4 separate regions of the Homo sapiens genome follow, and all the other regions are linked to region 1. Evidence: promoter capture Hi-C in 16 types of primary human blood cells and fetal thymus (Javierre and others, 2016). All regions are on one chromosome and are shown on one strand. The core of a region is centred on a gene start or on the middle of the fragment in contact, and the rest is flanking DNA. Distances in the headings are between cores, read along the strand shown. Region 1 holds the start of SRRT (serrate, RNA effector molecule). Region 2 holds the start of TSC22D4 (TSC22 domain family member 4). Region 3 holds the start of PLOD3 (procollagen-lysine,2-oxoglutarate 5-dioxygenase 3). Region 4 holds the start of NAT16 (N-acetyltransferase 16 (putative)).

Region 1 (4,162 bases), core at 656-3,155:
TAGCCTCGGAGACCCCCTATGGTCTGTGGACATCCTGAGAAACAGGACTCTAACCAAACTAGAATATGCTAAAATCACACGTTATGTCCACAACTCCAAGCTGTTCATGTCACTCGTGTCTGGGGAATTCCCACTCATCTTTCCAAGTCTAGCCAAGTGTCACTTTCCAGTGGGTCCCTGACACACAACCTCCAGCACCGCTCCCCTCCTTTAGAGATCTGTTCCCTCAATGCTTACCCTCTTTATAACTTCCACTATATATACTCATTTACAGAATACATCCACTGCCATTCTGATCCCCCATGCCAAGCTCACTGTAACACCCTAAGGTCAATAACCACATCTTATAATCAATCCAATCAGCACCGCCCTATGAACTCTGAGATTTTAGGCAAAACAGTGACAAGAAACCTAATCATATATTGTCAGGGAAATAATCTGACGACCTCTCCAGTCAGATCAACTCTATATTATTATTTTTCTGAAGCAATCCTCCTAAAATATAATTTACAACCTGGGCAACAGAGCAAGACGCTGTCTCTACAAAAAATAATTTTAGACCAAGCACTGGCTCATGCCTGTAATCCCAGCACTTTGGGAGGTCGAGCTGGGTGGATTACCTAAAGTCGAGAGTTCCAAACCAGCCTAGCCAACATGGTGAAACCCCGTCTCTACTAAAAATACAAAAATTAGACGGGCGTGGTGGCAGGTGCCTGTAATCCCAGCTACTCGGGAGGCTGAGGCAGGAGAATTACTTGAACCCCAGAGGCGAAGGTTGCAGTGAGCCAAGATTGCGCCATTGCACTCCAGCCTGGGCGACAGGGCAAGACTCTGTCTCGAAATAACAATAATAATTTTTAAAAGTTAGGCGGGCGTGATGGCCTCCCCCTGGAGTCCCAGCTTCTCAAGAGGCTGAGGCGGGAGGCTCGGTTGAGCCCGGGAGGTGGAGGCTGCTACGACTGCATCAATGCACTCCAGCCAGGGCAGCAGAACAAGACCCCATCTCAATAACAAAACAAAAAAAAGCAAAAAAGCACGCTTTTCGTGCATGTATAAACAGTGCTTCTTCATACTCAAACTCTTAGCTCTATAGCTCTGATCTGCAGAGAATTTCAAAAACCAAGCCACAGCTAGTTATTTGGCCAACAGCAAATAGGCTGAACCACAGAAAACGGTCCAATGAGCCATTTCATAGGATTCGCCCTCATAAAAATTACAAGGGGGAGAAAGAAAAGCGACGCGGGTGGAGTGAAACGGCATGAAACGGGGACAAGATGAAGTTAAAAACGGCTCACCTGTCATTCCAATCGTCCCCTCGACGTCTTTCATCTCTCTCGCGGGAACGGTCGTAGTCGCTGCGCTCTCTTCTGAACTTGTCCCTGCGCCTTCGATCGTACTCGTCATCACTGTCACCCATGGCACGGTCTGAGGGGGCCTGGGGACCGGGGAGAGGCGGTAGGAGTGGTGCAAAAGGACGAGCGGAGGAAGGGACCGTCCCTCGCGGGCAGCTCGCCCGCTTCCCTCCCGCCAAGGCCAGCCCTCCGCGGCCCCCACCATCCTAGGCCTGAGAACGCGGCTCCAACACCTCCACTCGCCCCGAGTTTCTCCGCGCCCGCCCCCGTGGACCCCGGTTCCTCTCCCGCCCCAGCGGGGCCCCCCAGGCTCCTCCCCTCCCCCACCTTGGTGCGGCCGCGGCCGTTGGACTCGCGCTCGGACGGGCTAGATTTCAGGGCGACCTGGGTCGCGGGCGCGCGACGAGGACTTCGAGGAGGGCGAGACGGAGACGGAGCTCTTGAGTAGAGGGCCGAAGAGAGGCGAACAAAAGTGGGACAACCGGGGATGGGCAGTAGCGCGCGCAGCCCGCGCTGCGCCTGCGTCACCCACGCCTCCGAGGCACAAAGCTCCACCCTCGCGGCCGGAACTGGAACTAACAAACCGAGCGCGAAGGGCGGGGAGAGCAGGGCGTGATGGGAAAGGGGCGGGGATCTCGCAAGTCTCGCGCGGCTTTTCGAGACGATAACGGCTCGAGCGTTAGGAACTACGGGACCTCGGCTGGGCCAAGCGCGGCCTCGGGAGGCGAACAAGCCCTCTGGGCGCGAAGGGAGAGCGGAAGTCGAGGATCGCGCGACCCCAGATGTGTCGGGGTCCTAAGACGGTTCTCATCCAGCCATGTTCCCCCCACGGGCCTCCTGACCTCACCGGGGGTGATTTCGTCCCCTCCTCGGGCAGGGCGTGGGCTTGGGAAGCGCGGGCGCTTAGGGGATGGAAGGTGGAAGCAACCATTTTAAAGCATCGTATCCCACCATTTTCTGCTCCAAATATCCAGCCAAAATTGGGTGCCACAGTGCGCACTAAATGCAAAGTCCGCCGTTCCTGCTTTTCCTCGACAAAGACGCCCCGTCTTTAAGTAAAATTGGCAGATCTCAGTCTTAACCCCGCTCAGTATTTGGATGAAATAGGCTGTAAGTTAACGCCCTAAACAGAGTATGGACCGCCCAGATTCAATGGATTACCACCCCCGGGAGTAACACCAAGGCCCCTCTCAGTGAATTGAGTGTGAGACTTAATAGGAAGACCAGCTGAGATGGCTCACGCCTGCAATCCCAGCGCTTTGGGAGGCCGACGTGGGAGAATCACTTGAGCCCAGGAGTTGGAGACCTGCCTGGGCAACATAGCAAGGCCCCTTTACAGAATATTTAGGGCCAGGCACATTGGCTCACACCTGTGATCCCAGCACTTGGGAAGGTCGAGGAGGGAGGACTTAAGCCCAAGAGTTCAGGACTAGCCTGGGCAACATAGCAAGATCCCATCTACACACAAAAAAATAATAACTGGGCTTGGTGGGATGCCCCTGTGGTCCTAGCTACTGGGGAGGCTAAGCCAGGAGGACTGTTTGAGCCCAGGAGTTCAGGGCTGCAGTGAGCCTTGATTGCACCACTGCACTCTAGCCTGGGGAACAGAGTGAGGCCCTGTCTCAAAATAGATACATAGAGGAAATCTTGCCTCCTCCCTGAGGCGTGCTTGCTCCCAGCACTGAGAGGAGGGTAGTGACGGATTACAAGAGTTGTCAAAAAAAACTGGACCTGAGTCAAAAAGACCCAGGTTCCACCATTTAAGAACCATGCAATCTGGGGGAGTCACCTCTCAGCTCTGACATCCTCACATGTAAAAATGCAGACAGTGGCCAAGGGCGGTGGCTCACGCCTGTAATCCCAGCACTTTGGTTGGGTGAAGCGGGCAGATCACTTGAGGTCAGGAGTTCAAGACCACCCTGACCAAGGTGGTGAAACCCCGTCTCTACTAAAAATACAAAATTAGCCAGACGTGGTGGCGGGCGCCTGTAATCCCAGCTACTCAAGAGGCTGAGGCAAGAGAATCACTTGAACCTGGGAGGCAGAGGTTGCAGTGAGCCGAGATGGCACCACTGCATTCCAGCCTGGGTGACAGAGCCAGACTCCGTCTCAAAAAAAAAAGAAAAAAAATGCAGGCAGTAACAATGACTGGGCCTGTAATGGGCTACTGGGAGAATCAGATGAGACAACAGACTTGGAAGTGTTTTGTAAACTCGAGGGATTATTATTTCTTGATTGGAGAAAGAGAAGACAGCATTTGGTGACAAAGTCATACAGGTGGATGTCAGGGAGAGTGATCAATCAAAGGATGGGAACTGGAACTGAGAACCCAGCAGGTACTTCTAGGAAGACTCAGCAGTCAGTGGTGACGGTGGCTGAGAGCTCCTGGATGCGCCAGGCGCTGCAGGCCTTGCACAAGATGTGCCCATCCAGCGGGTAGCAGCCCTGACACTCGCCCTCAGAGGAGAGCAGCAGCCCACACTCCTGTTGAAAAAGAAGCAACAATTGGCCGGGCGCGATGGCTCACGCCTGTAATCCCAGCACTTTGAGAAGCCGAGGCAGGAGGATCACAAGGTCAGGAGTTCAAGACCAGCCTGGCCAATATGGTGAAACCCTGTCTCTACTAAAAATACAAAAATTAGCCAGGCATGGTGGCCAGCACCTGTAATCCCAGCTACTCAGGAGGCTGAGGCAGGAGAATCACTTGAACCCGGGAGGTGGAGGTTGCAGTGAGCCAAGATTGTGCCACTGCACTCCAGCCTGGGCAACAGAGCAAGACTCCGTCTCAAAAAAAAAAAAAAAAGAAAGAA
Region 2 (4,162 bases), core at 757-3,256, 400 kb after region 1:
GGAGAATGGCGTGAACCCGGGAGGTGGAGCTTGCAGTGAGCCGAGATAGAGCCACTGCACTCCAGCCTGGGCGACAGAGCGAGACTCCGTCTCAAAAAAAGAGGGGTTAGAAATTTCCCTGAGGCCAGGCACCATGGCTCACGCCTGTAATGTCAGCTCTTTGGGAGGCCCAGGTGGAAGTATCATTTGAGGCCAGGAATTCGAGACCAGCCTGGGCAACATAGTAATAACCTGTCTCTACAAAAACTAAAAAATTAGCCAGGTATGGTGGTATACACCTGTGGTCCCAGCTACTAGGGAGGCAGAAGCAGGAGGATCACTTGAGGCCGGGAGTTCAAGACCACCCTGGGCAACATTGCAAGATCCCCATCTCTACCAAAAAAAAAAATTTTTTTTTAAAGAAATTTAGCCAGGCGTAGTAGTGTGTGTCTGTGGTCCCAGCTACTTGGGAGGCTGAGGCAGGAGCATGGCTTGAGCCCAGGAGTTCCAGGCTGTGGTGAGCTATGATCGCACCACTGCACTCCATCCTGGGCAACAGAGAGAGAGAGAGACCCTGTCTCTAAAAAAAAAGGCGGGGGCAGGTTGGGGGAAAGGGGAATAGTATAACATCTAGGATCTGATTTCAAATAGTCCAGCAAACTACAGCTGGCCCCCACACAATGTCATTTCATTGAATGTCATTTCATTATAACATTGATGATTTTCTAAAAATTGATTTTGGGCTGGGACCACCATCTGTGTGGAGTTTGCATGGTCTCCCCATGTCTGCATGGCATGTTTGAAAATTTTCATAATAATCCACTTTTTTTTTTTTTTTGAGACATGGTCTCACTCTGTTGCCCAGGCTGGAGTGCAGTGGCACAATCTTGGCTCACTGCATCCTCAACCTCCTGGGCTCAAGAGATCCTCCTGCCTCACAGCCTCCTGAGTAGCTGGGACTACAGGTATACATCACCACACTCAGTTTTTTTTTTTTTTTAAGATGGAGTCTCACTCTGTCACCAGGCTGGAGTGCAGTGGCGTGATCTCGACTCACTGCAACCTCCGCCTCCCAGGTTGAAGTGATTCTCCTGCCTCAGCCTCCCGAGTAGCTGGGACTACAGGTGCCCGCCACCACACCTGGCTAATTTTTGTATTTTAAGTAGAGACTTGGTTTCACCATGTTGGCCAGGATGGTCTTAATCTCTTGACCTCGTGATCCGCCCGCCTCGGCCTCCCAAAGTGCTAATTTTTTAAATTTTTTGTAGAGATGGGGATCTCGTTATATTGCCCAGGCTGGTCACGAACTCCTGGGCTCAAGCGATCCTCCCACCTTTGAGTAGCTGGAATTATAGGTGCACATCACCATGCCCAGCTATTTTTTTTTATTTTTTGTAGAGATGGGGTCTTGCTATTATATTGTCCAAACTGGTCTCAAGCGATCCTCCTTCCTCGACCTCCCAAAGTGCGGAGATTACAGGCATGAGCCACCACCGGGATCCGGCAATAATCCACTTTTAAAAATAAGGAATGGGGGGAATAATGCAGTTGCTGTGAAAACCAAAGGAGAATGACAGTAACAGCCACAGCTGCCCCACAGCAGGGACTGGGAACTTCTGGGTGGGCATGCAGCACACCTCCCGGCCTGTGCCTTCCGTCTCTTCTGTGTGTCTCTAGGCCAATGGCAGCAATTGACTACAAGTAAGGGAATCCCTCGCCTCCCTGCAAGCTCCTCCCCTTTCTCCCCGAGCCCCGCCCCCTGCAGCCCCTCCCTGCAAGAGTGGGGCTAGGGCCCGGCAGGTGTGGGGTTAAGGGAGTCTGTTTGGGGCCCCCAGGAGCAGCAGCCTAAGCAGTGGCTGCAGCAACTGCAACAGCAGCGGCTGTGGCAGGCCTGGCCCCGGGCCAGCTGGCGGGAAGCCCCAGGAGGGAGGGAGGGAGGAGGAAGGGGAGGAAGAGGGGAAGGAGGAGGAGGAGGAGGAGAGGAGCAGTCAGCAGGCCCGAGGAGGCAGGACTTCCTGGTGTGGGGGTTGTCAACAGCCCAGAAAGAGAAAGACGGAGAGGCAGAGACCCAGGGGAGCCGAGGAGCGGAGACACGGACCCAGCAGGGTCACGCGGGAGGAGACTCGGGACACCCACTCGCTGGCTGCCACCGGGAGCAGAGGGGGGCTCGGCCGCCCCCTCCCACATCAGTCTCCAGACCCTTGGGGCTTCAGAGGCCGCTCCTAGGCTCCTCGGAGGAGGCGCGGGTTTCTTCTTTTCCGGAGAGCAAACTTTCCTCGGAGATGCCTGGCAGGATGAGCCGCGGCCCCCGGAGAGGACGGGACAGCCTCTGATCGCCGCCTGCGTGCCCCGCCACTGCCCATGGCCAGGAGGCCCCAGGGAACGGACAGCCCGACCTCTTAGGCGCCGGGACCCTCAGGCTCAGATCAGTGGCCGAGGCCCCAGAGGTAGGGTTCAGGGCTGGGTGGGGCGCTGGGGGGTAGCCGGGCAGGGCCTGCCCCAGAGATGTGGGAGCTGGGGTGAGGGTGGGGGCTCGAGGCCCAGGAGAGGTCTCTCTGAGTGGCCGGGCCAGGCTGGGGAGCTGCTTCAGCCTGGTTCTCCCAGGCCCTGGAGTCCGAGCTCTTGGGACAATACGGGCCCCCTGAGTCAGAATCCCAGGCGAGAAATGCCCAACTCTGGGACTCATCTGCCTCTTTCTACTCTGAGTGCCTTCTTGGATCCAGTCCCCTCTGCCCTGGTCTCTGTCATCTCTTGCCTGTCTCTGGGTCTCTGACGGTTTCCCCTTCCCCCACTCTGCTCCCCGGAGAGGAAGCCCCGGAGGTGGCCTGCCCACTGGTTTCACACACACACACACACACACACACACACACACACACACACACACACACACTCTCTCTCTCTCTCTCTCTCTCTCTCTCCCCCTCTTTTTCCAGTTTGCAAACTCAGCTCTGGAGTTCAGCAGCAACAGCAGCAGGAAAAACCTGCCCCTGCTCCCCCCTCCCGCCACCTCCCCTCTCCTCTTCTCCCCTCACCCAGCAGGCACCCCCGGTTCCCGCCAGGCCCTCCTGCCATGTCGGACCCAGACGTCCCCAGGGGCTCGGATGTCCCCGCCATGTGGCCCCCTTGTTCCAGGGGTGCCTGAGCCCCTTCAAGGAGCCCCAACCCACCCCCAACCTTGGCCCAGCCCTGAGCCCCAGGGACCATGAGCGGGGGCAAGAAGAAGAGTAGTTTCCAAATCACCAGCGTCACCACGGACTATGAGGGCCCTGGGAGCCCAGGGGCTTCGGATCCCCCTACCCCACAGCCCCCAACCGGGCCCCCGCCCCGCCTGCCCAATGGGGAGCCCAGCCCCGATCCGGGGGGCAAGGGCACCCCCCGGAATGGCTCCCCACCACCTGGGGCCCCTTCCTCCCGTTTCCGGGTGGTGAAGCTGCCCCACGGCCTGGGAGAGCCTTATCGCCGCGGTCGCTGGACGTGTGTGGATGTTTATGAGCGAGACCTGGAGCCCCACAGCTTCGGCGGACTCCTGGAGGGAATTCGAGGGGCCTCAGGGGGCGCCGGGGGCAGATCTTTGGATTCCAGGTTGGAGCTGGCCAGCCTCGGCCTGGGCGCCCCCACCCCACCGTCAGGCCTGTCTCAGGGCCCCACCTCCTGGCTCCGTCCACCCCCCACCTCTCCTGGACCTCAGGCCCGCTCCTTCACTGGGGGACTGGGCCAGCTGGTGGTGCCCAGCAAAGCCAAGGCAGAGAAACCCCCACTGTCGGCCTCCTCACCCCAGCAGCGCCCCCCAGAGCCTGAGACCGGTGAGAGTGCGGGCACATCCCGGGCTGCCACGCCCCTGCCCTCTCTGAGGGTGGAAGCGGAGGCTGGGGGCTCAGGGGCCAGGACCCCTCCACTGTCCCGGAGGAAAGCTGTAGACATGCGGCTGCGGATGGAGTTGGGTGCTCCAGAAGAGATGGGGCAGGTAAGACCTGGGTTCTAGGGCTGGCCCATCAGCCCTGGCCTAACCTCTATCTTGAGCCTCCTTCCTCCTCCTCCCCCCCCTCTCCTCCTCCTTCTCCATCACTTTATAAGATCAGATAGCCCTCTTCTCTGTGCCTGCCAGGTCACTCTGAAGCCCCTTCCTCCTACTTCATTTTCTGTCTCAGCCTCCTTCCTGTTTTTCTGCACCCTCTCTCTTTCT
Region 3 (4,162 bases), core at 1,004-3,503, 340 kb before region 1:
AACTGGTGAATGACCTGGCTAGGGGAGACAGCGGGGTATTTCAGACCTTGAGGCCAACATGAAAAAACTGATGGCTGGGAGACTGCGATGCCTTTGAAAAACTGAGAGGGCCAAGCGCAGTGGCTCATGCCTGTAATTCTAGCATTTTGGGGGGCCGAGGCGGGTGGATCACGAGGTCAGGAGATCAAGACCATCCTGGCTAACATGGTGAAACCCTGTCTCTACTAAAAATACAAAAGATAAGCTGGGTGTGGTGGCGGGCGCCTGTAGTCCCAGCTACTCCAGAAGCTGAGGCCAGAGAATGGTGTGAACCCGGGAGGCAGAGCTTGCAGTGAACCGAGATTGCGCCACTGCACTCCAGCCTGGGGGACAGAGCAAGACTCCGTCTCAAAAAGAAAAAAAAAGAAAGAAAGAAAAACTAAAAGGGCCAAGCGCAGTGGCTCATACTTGTAATCCTAGCATTTTGGAAGGCCGAGGCAGGAGGATCACATGAGCTCAGGAGTTCAAGACCAGCCTGGGCAACATAGTGAGACACCCATCTCAACAAAAAATATAAAAACTAGCCCAGCATGGTGGCCTGCACCCACCTGTAGTTCCACCTACTCAGGTGGCTGAGGTGGAAGAATCACTTGAGCATGGGAGGTTGAGGCTGCAGTGAGTTATATAGAACCACTGCATTCCAGCCTGGGTGACAGAGCAAGACTCTGTCTAAAAAAAAAAAGTCTTTGCTGGCTCTCCAGTGTTTCCCTACAGAGTTCAAACTCCTGGGCAGTGTGTATAATGCCTTTCAAAATGTAACCTTTCCCCAGCCTTCGATCCTTTCTTATTACTCTGTAAGATCCAAACTGTGAACTTGGCTTCCTAAGCGACTTGCTTTTTCTTGCTTCACTGCCTTTGCACGTGAGGTTCCCACTGAGAGAAACCCTAACTAGACTTTCAAGACTCAATTCAAGCTTTTTCATTTTTCCTTCAAGCTTTCACAGTCCCCTGCCTCCCAGAACCTGGGCTAGATGCCACGTCTCCCTGTTCCCAGGCGCTGTGCTTCCCTCTGCCATAGCACAAATCACAAATCACAGTAAAATACAGTGTTAGGTCTGCGTTTCTGCCCCCCTTCCAGAAAAAGCCAATGCTTGGATAAGAGGGGTCTTTCTCCTCTTCATCCCCAGCGCCCGGCTTGGAGCAGGCACCAATAAAACGTGAATGAAGGGTCAACGCCAGGACCCGAGGGCTGAGGAAGGGATTTACGAGGAATAGCTGGGGCCGGGCGCGGCAGCTCACGCCTGTAATCCCAGCACTTTGGAAGGCCCACGCAGGAGGATCGCTTTGAGGCCAAGAGTTGGAGACCAACCTGGGCAACATAGCGAGAGCCCGTCACCACATAACAAATTAAAAATTAACCAGGCGTGGGGCCTCATGCTTGCAGTTCCAGCCACTCCGGAGGCTGAGGTGGGAGGATGGTTTGATCCCAGGAAATCGAGGCTGCAGTGAGCTATGACTATGCCACTGCACTCCAGCCTAGGCGAAAGAGCGAGACCAAAAAAGAGGAATGACTAGGTAAGAAAATTCTAGGACTGACTTGGGAAGGGGAAGGGGGCGAACCGCGGGGGCTCACATACCCGAAGTTTTCTTCTCCACCATTGGCACAACACAACTGTCGGAAGAAACTGCTGCGCACGCGTACTAACCCCAAGGCTTTAGTAGGGGCGCCATCACTTCCGGTAGCTTGTACTTCTGCGCGTGCGCCACAGCTTTGACTCATTACGTGGCGTTTCCTTGGAGACAAGAAAGCTTTTCGCCATGTTTTATAGGGGCAAAACCACTTCCGGCCTCAGTGTGGAGGTGTAAATCTTGTGGGAGCCACGAAATGGGTCATTTTAAAGATGTGGTCACGGTGTTCTTACAAGAAATCTTATTTTCCTTTGGTCCTTGTGAAGATGCTGTGATCACAAAGGCAGCCCCTGGAGCTTCTCCGGGCAGAAGAGGAGGTGGGCTGGACTGTCAAAGAAAGTGGCTGGCTTCCGTGGGCAATCCGAGGTTCCTAGTGGCCCTCTGCAGAAAGCTGAACTCCCAGTTCCCCCAGGCCTCCGTCCCGCGGCGGACTCCTAGGCTTCCTCCCTCCCTGTCGCCGCCAGCCTCTCGCTCTCCCCGTCTTCCGCCCGCACTCTCTGGGCAGGGCTGCGGCCAGGACCCGCCCCCGCGTCCCGCCCGACCCTCCGCCAGGGGTCACTTCCCCTGTCCAGGTTTCAGCTTCCACATGTGTCAAGCGGCTGGCTCAGCCCAGAGTCCCTGTCTCCCGCCCGCCGGCCCGAGCCGCCGCCCCTCCCCCGCCTCCCGTGCGCCCGGGACAATCCTCGCCTTGTCTGTGGCGCCGGCATCTGGAGCTTTCTGTAGCCTCCGGATACGCCTTTTTTTCAGGGCGTAGCCCCAGCCAAGCTGCTCCCCGCGGCGGCCGCACAGCAGCCCGAGCGCCCCCTTTCCAGAGCTCCCCTCCGGAGCTGGGATCCAGGCGCGTAGCGGAGATCCCAGGATCCTGGGTGCTGTCTGGGCCCGCTCCCCACCATGACCTCCTCGGGGCCTGGACCCCGGTTCCTGCTGCTGCTGCCGCTGCTGCTGCCCCCTGCGGCCTCAGCCTCCGACCGGCCCCGGGGCCGAGACCCGGTCAACCCAGGTGAGATCCCGGGGAGGCCCGGCACGGCCGAGGGGGCAGAGGCTGGCGTGCCTGCCAGCCTGGCCCGGAGAGGGTCGGAGGCTCGAGGAGGTGTCTGGCCCGTCCCCCGCCCAGCGTGCTCTTGAGGCTGAGTCGCGCCAAGCCCCTCGCCCATCACTACCCTGAACTGGGGTTTCCAGCCTCCCTATGCAAAGGGACTCGGAATTCCTGGGCACCACTCCCACCCTGCCCTCCTTGGGGTCAGAGTGTTCCTGGGTGAGAAGAGTTTAAGAATGGGAAGGAAGAAAGGGAGGGAAGTCGAGTGAGAGGGAGGACAGCAAAGCACGTGAGGCCCGGAGCTGGGCGGTGGATCTCAAGTGCCATTTCCCTCTGGTAACAGAGAAGCTGCTGGTGATCACTGTGGCCACAGCTGAAACCGAGGGGTACCTGCGTTTCCTGCGCTCTGCGGAGTTCTTCAACTACACTGTGCGGGTGAGGAGAGGGAAAGGCCCCTGGGAGGGGGTCCCAGCAGGAGGGGTGGGCTGAAGTCTGGATGCCCAGGTCCCCACGGTAAGCCTGGTCAGGAGTTCCCCCCACAACTCCCCACCCCTTGCCTGGCACGGGGCAATCTTCTCCACAGACCCTGGGCCTGGGAGAGGAGTGGCGAGGGGGTGATGTGGCTCGAACAGTTGGTGGAGGACAGAAGGTCCGGTGGTTAAAGAAGGAAATGGAGAAATACGCTGACCGGGAGGATATGATCATCATGTTTGTGGATAGGTAACGGGGCTGGGGATAGGGAGCGGGGTAAGGATGCTGAGGTTCCCAGTGGACCCCTGCCCATCCTCCCCTTCCTCACCCAGCTACGACGTGATTCTGGCCGGCAGCCCCACAGAGCTGCTGAAGAAGTTCGTCCAGAGTGGCAGCCGCCTGCTCTTCTCTGCAGAGAGCTTCTGCTGGCCCGAGTGGGGGCTGGCGGAGCAGTACCCTGAGGTGGGCACGGGGAAGCGCTTCCTCAATTCTGGTGGTGAGTGGCAGAGTGCCCAAGGCAGAGGGGCCAAGAGCGGTGGGACACAGAGTGTTAAAGGCGCCTGAGGGCTGGAGACAGCCTGGGGGACAGGCCCTGGGACCCTGGGAGTCTCGAGGTCAACACTCCCCCTCCCCGCCAGGATTCATCGGTTTTGCCACCACCATCCACCAAATCGTGCGCCAGTGGAAGTACAAGGATGATGACGACGACCAGCTGTTCTACACACGGCTCTACCTGGACCCAGGACTGAGGGTAGGGAAGGCAGAGGAGTGGGCGCATCCCGCAGCTCTGTGGGAGTGGAGGCCTCAGGCTGAATGGGATTTGGGGAGCAAAGGGGGTTGCAAAGAGAAAAATGTGTGCCTGGGCGTGGTGGCTCACGCCTGTCATCCAAGACTTTTGGGAGGCTTAGGCAGGAGGATTGCTTGAGTCCAGGAATTTAAGACCAGCCTGGACAACATAGTTGAGACCTCATCTCTACAAAAAAAAAG
Region 4 (4,162 bases), core at 614-3,113, 310 kb before region 1:
ATGGGATCAGTTTGCCTGATTATGAAGTTATCACCTCGGAAAGTAAAGAAAGAAAAAATGGAATAAGATGGGTGAACAATGAATTTTGGGGTGGGGGAGAGGGTAGGGGGAGCATGAGAGCTGGGCGGCCCCTGGAGAGAGGACTCCAGCAGACCTTGAAAGGCCTTAACATTATTCCCTGCATCGGCCGGGCACGGTGGCCCACGCCTGTAATCCCAGCACTTTGGGAGGCCGAGGCGGGCGGATCACGAGGTCAGGAGATCGAGACCATCCTGGCTAACACGGTGAAACCCCGTCTCTACTAAAAATACAAAAAATTAGCCGGGGGTGGTGGCGGGCGTCTGTAGTCCCAGTTACTGGGGAGGCTGAGGCAGGAGAATGGCATGAACCCGGGAGGCAGAGCTTGCAGTGAGCCGAGATCGCGCCACTGCACTCCAGCCTAGGCGAGAGTGAGACTCCTCTCAAAAAAAAAAAAAAAAAATTATTCCCTGCATCTCCAAAGCAGTTTACAGTTGCTAAAGGGCTTTGTCCATCACTTTCCTGGCTCCTTACAGGGTAGAACTGAAGGTGTTCTGATCTCACTTTATTTATTATTTTATTTTATTTTGAGTTGGATTCTCGCTCTGCCGCGCAGGCTGGAGTGCAGTGGCACGATCTCGGCGCATTGCAATCTCTGCCTCCCGGGTTCAAGCGATTCTCCTGCCTCAGCCTCCCAAGTAGCTGAGATTACAGGTGCAGGCCACTGTGCCCGGCTGATTTTTGTATTTTTAGTAGAAACGGGGTTTCGCCATGTTGGCCATGCTGGTCTTGAACTCCTGACCTCAGGTGATCCTCCCACCTCGGCCTCCCAGAGTGCTGGGATTACAGGCATGAGCCACCGTGCCCGGCCAGGCCAGGCTAATTGTTGTATTTTTAGTAGAGACGGGGTTTCACCATGTTGGCCAGGCTGGTCTCGAACTCCTGACCTCAAGTGATTCCCCCGCCTCGGCCTCCCAAAGTGCTGGGATCACAGGCTTGAGCCACCGCACCCAGTCTTGAGCTCACTTTATAGGTGGGATGGAGAACCTTGTAGGAGTTAAGAGCCTGGGCCACCGCCTTATTAGAGCAGGGGCAGCGCTGCACCCACCCGGGTCCCAGCTCCACACTTCCCTCTTCCTCCCCAGCCACCAGGATCAGCGTGGGGTGCAGCGCCTCCTGAGTGCAGAGGTCTGTGTGAATGTGCCTGGGTGTGCGCTGTGTACCTGGAGGTCTTTCTGCCTGCTGTCCCGTGGGGTACATTGTGGATTTAGGGGCCTTGTGCACCCGGGGAACCAGGGTGCTCAGGCACCCACGCAGTGGTGAGAAGATGGAGAGATCTTGGCCTCCCTCTGCCCTTTTCAGCCTTTCAACTTCTGTCTCTTGATGTCTCTTCGCCTTCCCGGTGTTCTAGGGTTTCTGATTCCCTCTATCAGTTTCCGGGGACGAAGGCTCGGAGTCCCCTTCCCAGCCGCTCTTATAATGGAGAGAGGAGATTCCATTGAGGGGTGGCTCCTGGAGGAGGGGTACTTCAGGGCAGTGGGGGACCCCCGGACAGAGAACGGAGGTGCTGGGCGTGGGGTGGGGAGATAACTAAGCCAGCAACACCAGCATCACCACCACCAAAACCCGAGACACCACCATCCTCAGTCCCACTCCCCAGCCGGGACACAGGGCGGAGTCTCGCCAGTAGGGCTTGAGGCCACCCAGCTGCCCAGGGCGCACCCCGACCCCCGGCCCCGCCAGCAGGGCACGAGTCCGCTCCGGATCCGTCCCGGGTTTCTTCCGCGTCGCCGGGGTCTCCGCCCCTCGAAGCTGCCGCCGGAGCGTCGCCGGGGGAGCCACGCGTGCCACCCGAACCCCTGAACCGATGGGCGCCCCGGCCCGCGTCGCCAACGGAGCTGCGGCGCTGCCCCAGCGCTGACCGACGTTAGAGTCGGGCTCCGACAGCGCGGCCGAGTCCCCGCGCGTCATCCTCCTTTGACTCTTGGGGGCTCCAAAGGGACCTCTCTCTTGGCACCGGGGGTGTCTGCGCCCGCCGCCCGCCCCGCTTGGCTTTGCGGCATCTCGGCCCTGGCTCCAGCTCCGGCTCCGGCGAGGTAGGGGGGCGGCCGGGCCTGGGGACTGGGGAGGGGGCTAGCGTGCTCCTCCACCGCAGAATGGGGCAGCAGAAGGCCACCGCCCCTCAGGGGGACCAAGCGGCTGCGCCCCCTTCTGCCCAGCCCCTCCCAGTCCGAAGACCCAGAAAACTGAGTCAGAGGCTGCGCTTCAGGTGTCCAGAAGCGCTCCCCCGCCCCCCTCTGTTGCCATGTCGCTCCCACCTGTCCCCAGGGTCCGGCGCCCAGGGGAACCCCCGCCAAGCAGATCGCTCCCTTTGCAATCTCCCTCTCCCCCAAGCCCAAGCCCCCAATCCGGGGTAGAGGCAGAGGGAAGACCCTCACTCGGGAAGACCCTGCAGGACAGCCCCCCCTTCTCCACTACTGTGGCCCTCTGGGGCCCTCCCCCCACCCCCTTTGGCTGGGCCATCTTCCTCGGCCCCTGCCTCTGCCCACCCCCTAGGCCTTCTCTCCCGCCCCCACTTCATCGCCTCTCCCCGTCTCTGTTTCCAAGGTTGTTCTCTTACGGCCTTTTTTCTGACTTTCTTTTCCCCTTGACCCCTTCCCCTCCACGGATCCCCGCCCCCCATACCCCGGGGCGAAGGGGGTGTGTCACGCTGCTTTCTATTTACAGTGTCCCAGGGGAGGGGGTGCGTGCTAGGATTTTTTTTTTTTCATCTGCTGGGCCCAGAGTCACGAGGTGTCATGTCTGTGATTCGGTGTCGAAGCCTCCTCCGGCTTCCCTGCCTGTCCCCTGCGGCCGCATCTCCTGTCCGCTTTTGTCTGCTCTCTGCCTCCATTCCCGTCCTTTTCGCTCTCATCTTTGGGCGCTTTGTGCAGCTGCCTTCTTTGTCTCCGCCTCTCCGGCGACTGGGCTCTCCCTTCCCTCCCTCTCCTCCCTCCCCCAGTGTCAAGAAGCCATCGGCCTCAAGGGCATCGATATTTCAGGTGTGTGGGGTGTGGTGGGAGTGGGGTGCGGGTGGGTGGGCTGCCGGCATTCCCAGCTCTGACTCCGATCATGCCCAGCTATGACTCTGATCACCCCCTCCCCAAAGAGATCATTCATATTTATGAGATTTAAAGAATGTCCCCAAGGATGTGGGGATAGACATGAAGAGAGAAATGTTATTCCTCTTTTTTTTTTTTTTTTTTTTTGACAGCGTTTCACTCTTGTTGCCCAGGCTGGAGTGCAATAGCGTGATCTCGGCTCACCACAATCTCGGCCTCCCGGGTTGAAGCGATTCTCCTGCCTCAGCCTCCTGAGTAGCTGGGATTACAGGAATGCGCCAGCACGCCCGGCTACTTTTGTATTTTTTTTTTTTTTTTTTTTTTTTAGTAGAGAGAGGGTTTCTCCATGTTGGTCAGGCTGGTCTCCAACTCCTGACCTCAGATGATCCGCCTCCCTTGGCTTCCCAAAGTGGTGGGATTATAGGCATGAGCCACCACGCCCGGCCAAGAAATGCTGTCCCTCTTTTAGGAGGGCGCTTGGTCCAGGAGATACCTGGACTACATTTCTGACAGTGCCCTGGACTCACCAGCTGCCTCCGCCTCTGCCTAGACATCTGATGAGAGTTAAGAGTTCCACGGAGCCAGGCTGGAGGGTGCTGGACTGGAGGGTAGGAAGTGGTCACCATGTGAAGCAAGGGTTACAGGCTAGCCCACAGCTTTGGCTTGGCCTGGAGTCGCTGACCTGTTTTATTACTCGCCTCCTCCAAGGTTTAAGGACCTGGGAACCTTTGTTCATGTCCCCCAAAATGGAACAGGGGTAGAGGTGGTGCCTGGGTTGAAAGATGGGGGATGCATTGGAAAGTTCTTCCCTCCCCATGACTCTGGGAACTCCCCACGTCCACCCCTACCCTTACCTCCCACGACAAACAACCTTATCTGAGACGTATAAATGCCATTTGGAAAGGGTCTCCCCACTGTAAGCAAGGGAAGGAGACTGGAGCCAAATGTCTTGAATGAGTCAGGTGGGTTCCAGTCTACCGGTTGCTCACAACTTATCACCTTTGGGGGTAGTGAGGGTATTGCTGGAAGCACCACTGAACCAC

What was found. Contacts are between HindIII fragments. The CHiCAGO score rates a contact against its expected background, and 5 or more counts as called.
Region 2: the fragment with the promoter of TSC22D4 here is called in contact with the fragment with the promoter of SRRT in region 1 in 1 of 17 cell types (total B cells); the score reaches 5.5 in total B cells.
Region 3: a contact is called between the fragment with the promoter of PLOD3 here and the fragment with the promoter of SRRT in region 1, in 3 of 17 cell types (M0 macrophages, activated CD4 T cells and total CD4 T cells). The highest score is 7.8, in M0 macrophages.
Region 4: the fragment with the promoter of NAT16 here is called in contact with the fragment with the promoter of SRRT in region 1 in 3 of 17 cell types (M0 macrophages, neutrophils and naive CD4 T cells); the score reaches 6.5 in M0 macrophages.

Annotation. Positions count from the first base shown.
Region 1 is chr7:100,872,846-100,877,007 of GRCh38, reverse strand. It overlaps SRRT (serrate, RNA effector molecule), which reads right to left and starts at 1,905. Exons shown (of 20, transcript NM_015908.6): 1 at 1,680-1,905; 2 at 1,296-1,435. The coding sequence starts at 1,417. TRIP6 (thyroid hormone receptor interactor 6) reads right to left here. Exons shown (of 9, transcript NM_003302.3): 9 at 3,554-3,836. The coding sequence ends at 3,705. RefSeq lists a silencer at 1,424-1,653 and enhancers at 1,794-1,853, 2,064-2,113, 1,690-2,355, 2,356-3,020. The HindIII fragment of the contact is 10,507 bases long and covers 1-4,162 here.
Region 2 is chr7:100,477,058-100,481,219 of GRCh38, reverse strand. It overlaps TSC22D4 (TSC22 domain family member 4), which reads left to right and starts at 2,006. Exons shown (of 5, transcript NM_030935.5): 1 at 2,006-2,426; 2 at 2,913-3,943. The coding sequence starts at 3,182. It overlaps TSC22D4-C7ORF61 (TSC22D4-C7orf61 readthrough), which reads left to right and starts at 2,006. Exons shown (of 6, transcript NM_001395846.1): 1 at 2,006-2,426; 2 at 2,913-3,943. The coding sequence starts at 3,182. RefSeq lists enhancers at 1,491-1,600, 2,301-2,370 and a silencer at 1,691-1,850. The HindIII fragment of the contact is 34,188 bases long and covers 1-4,162 here.
Region 3 is chr7:101,215,672-101,219,833 of GRCh38, reverse strand. It overlaps PLOD3 (procollagen-lysine,2-oxoglutarate 5-dioxygenase 3), which reads left to right and starts at 2,253. Exons shown (of 19, transcript NM_001084.5): 1 at 2,253-2,668; 2 at 3,048-3,139; 3 at 3,288-3,424; 4 at 3,508-3,671; 5 at 3,814-3,926. The coding sequence starts at 2,560. ZNHIT1 (zinc finger HIT-type containing 1) reads right to left here and starts at 1,669. Exons shown (of 5, transcript NM_006349.3): 1 at 1,617-1,669. The coding sequence starts at 1,638. RefSeq lists enhancers at 1,322-1,863, 1,957-2,076, 2,625-3,147 and silencers at 2,177-2,456, 2,597-2,646, 2,707-2,826. The HindIII fragment of the contact is 13,473 bases long and covers 1,791-4,162 here.
Region 4 is chr7:101,177,994-101,182,155 of GRCh38, reverse strand. It overlaps NAT16 (N-acetyltransferase 16 (putative)), which reads left to right and starts at 1,863. Exons shown (of 4, transcript NM_198571.3): 1 at 1,863-2,114. RefSeq lists a silencer at 1,694-1,988 and an enhancer at 1,360-2,082. The HindIII fragment of the contact is 7,974 bases long and covers 1-4,162 here.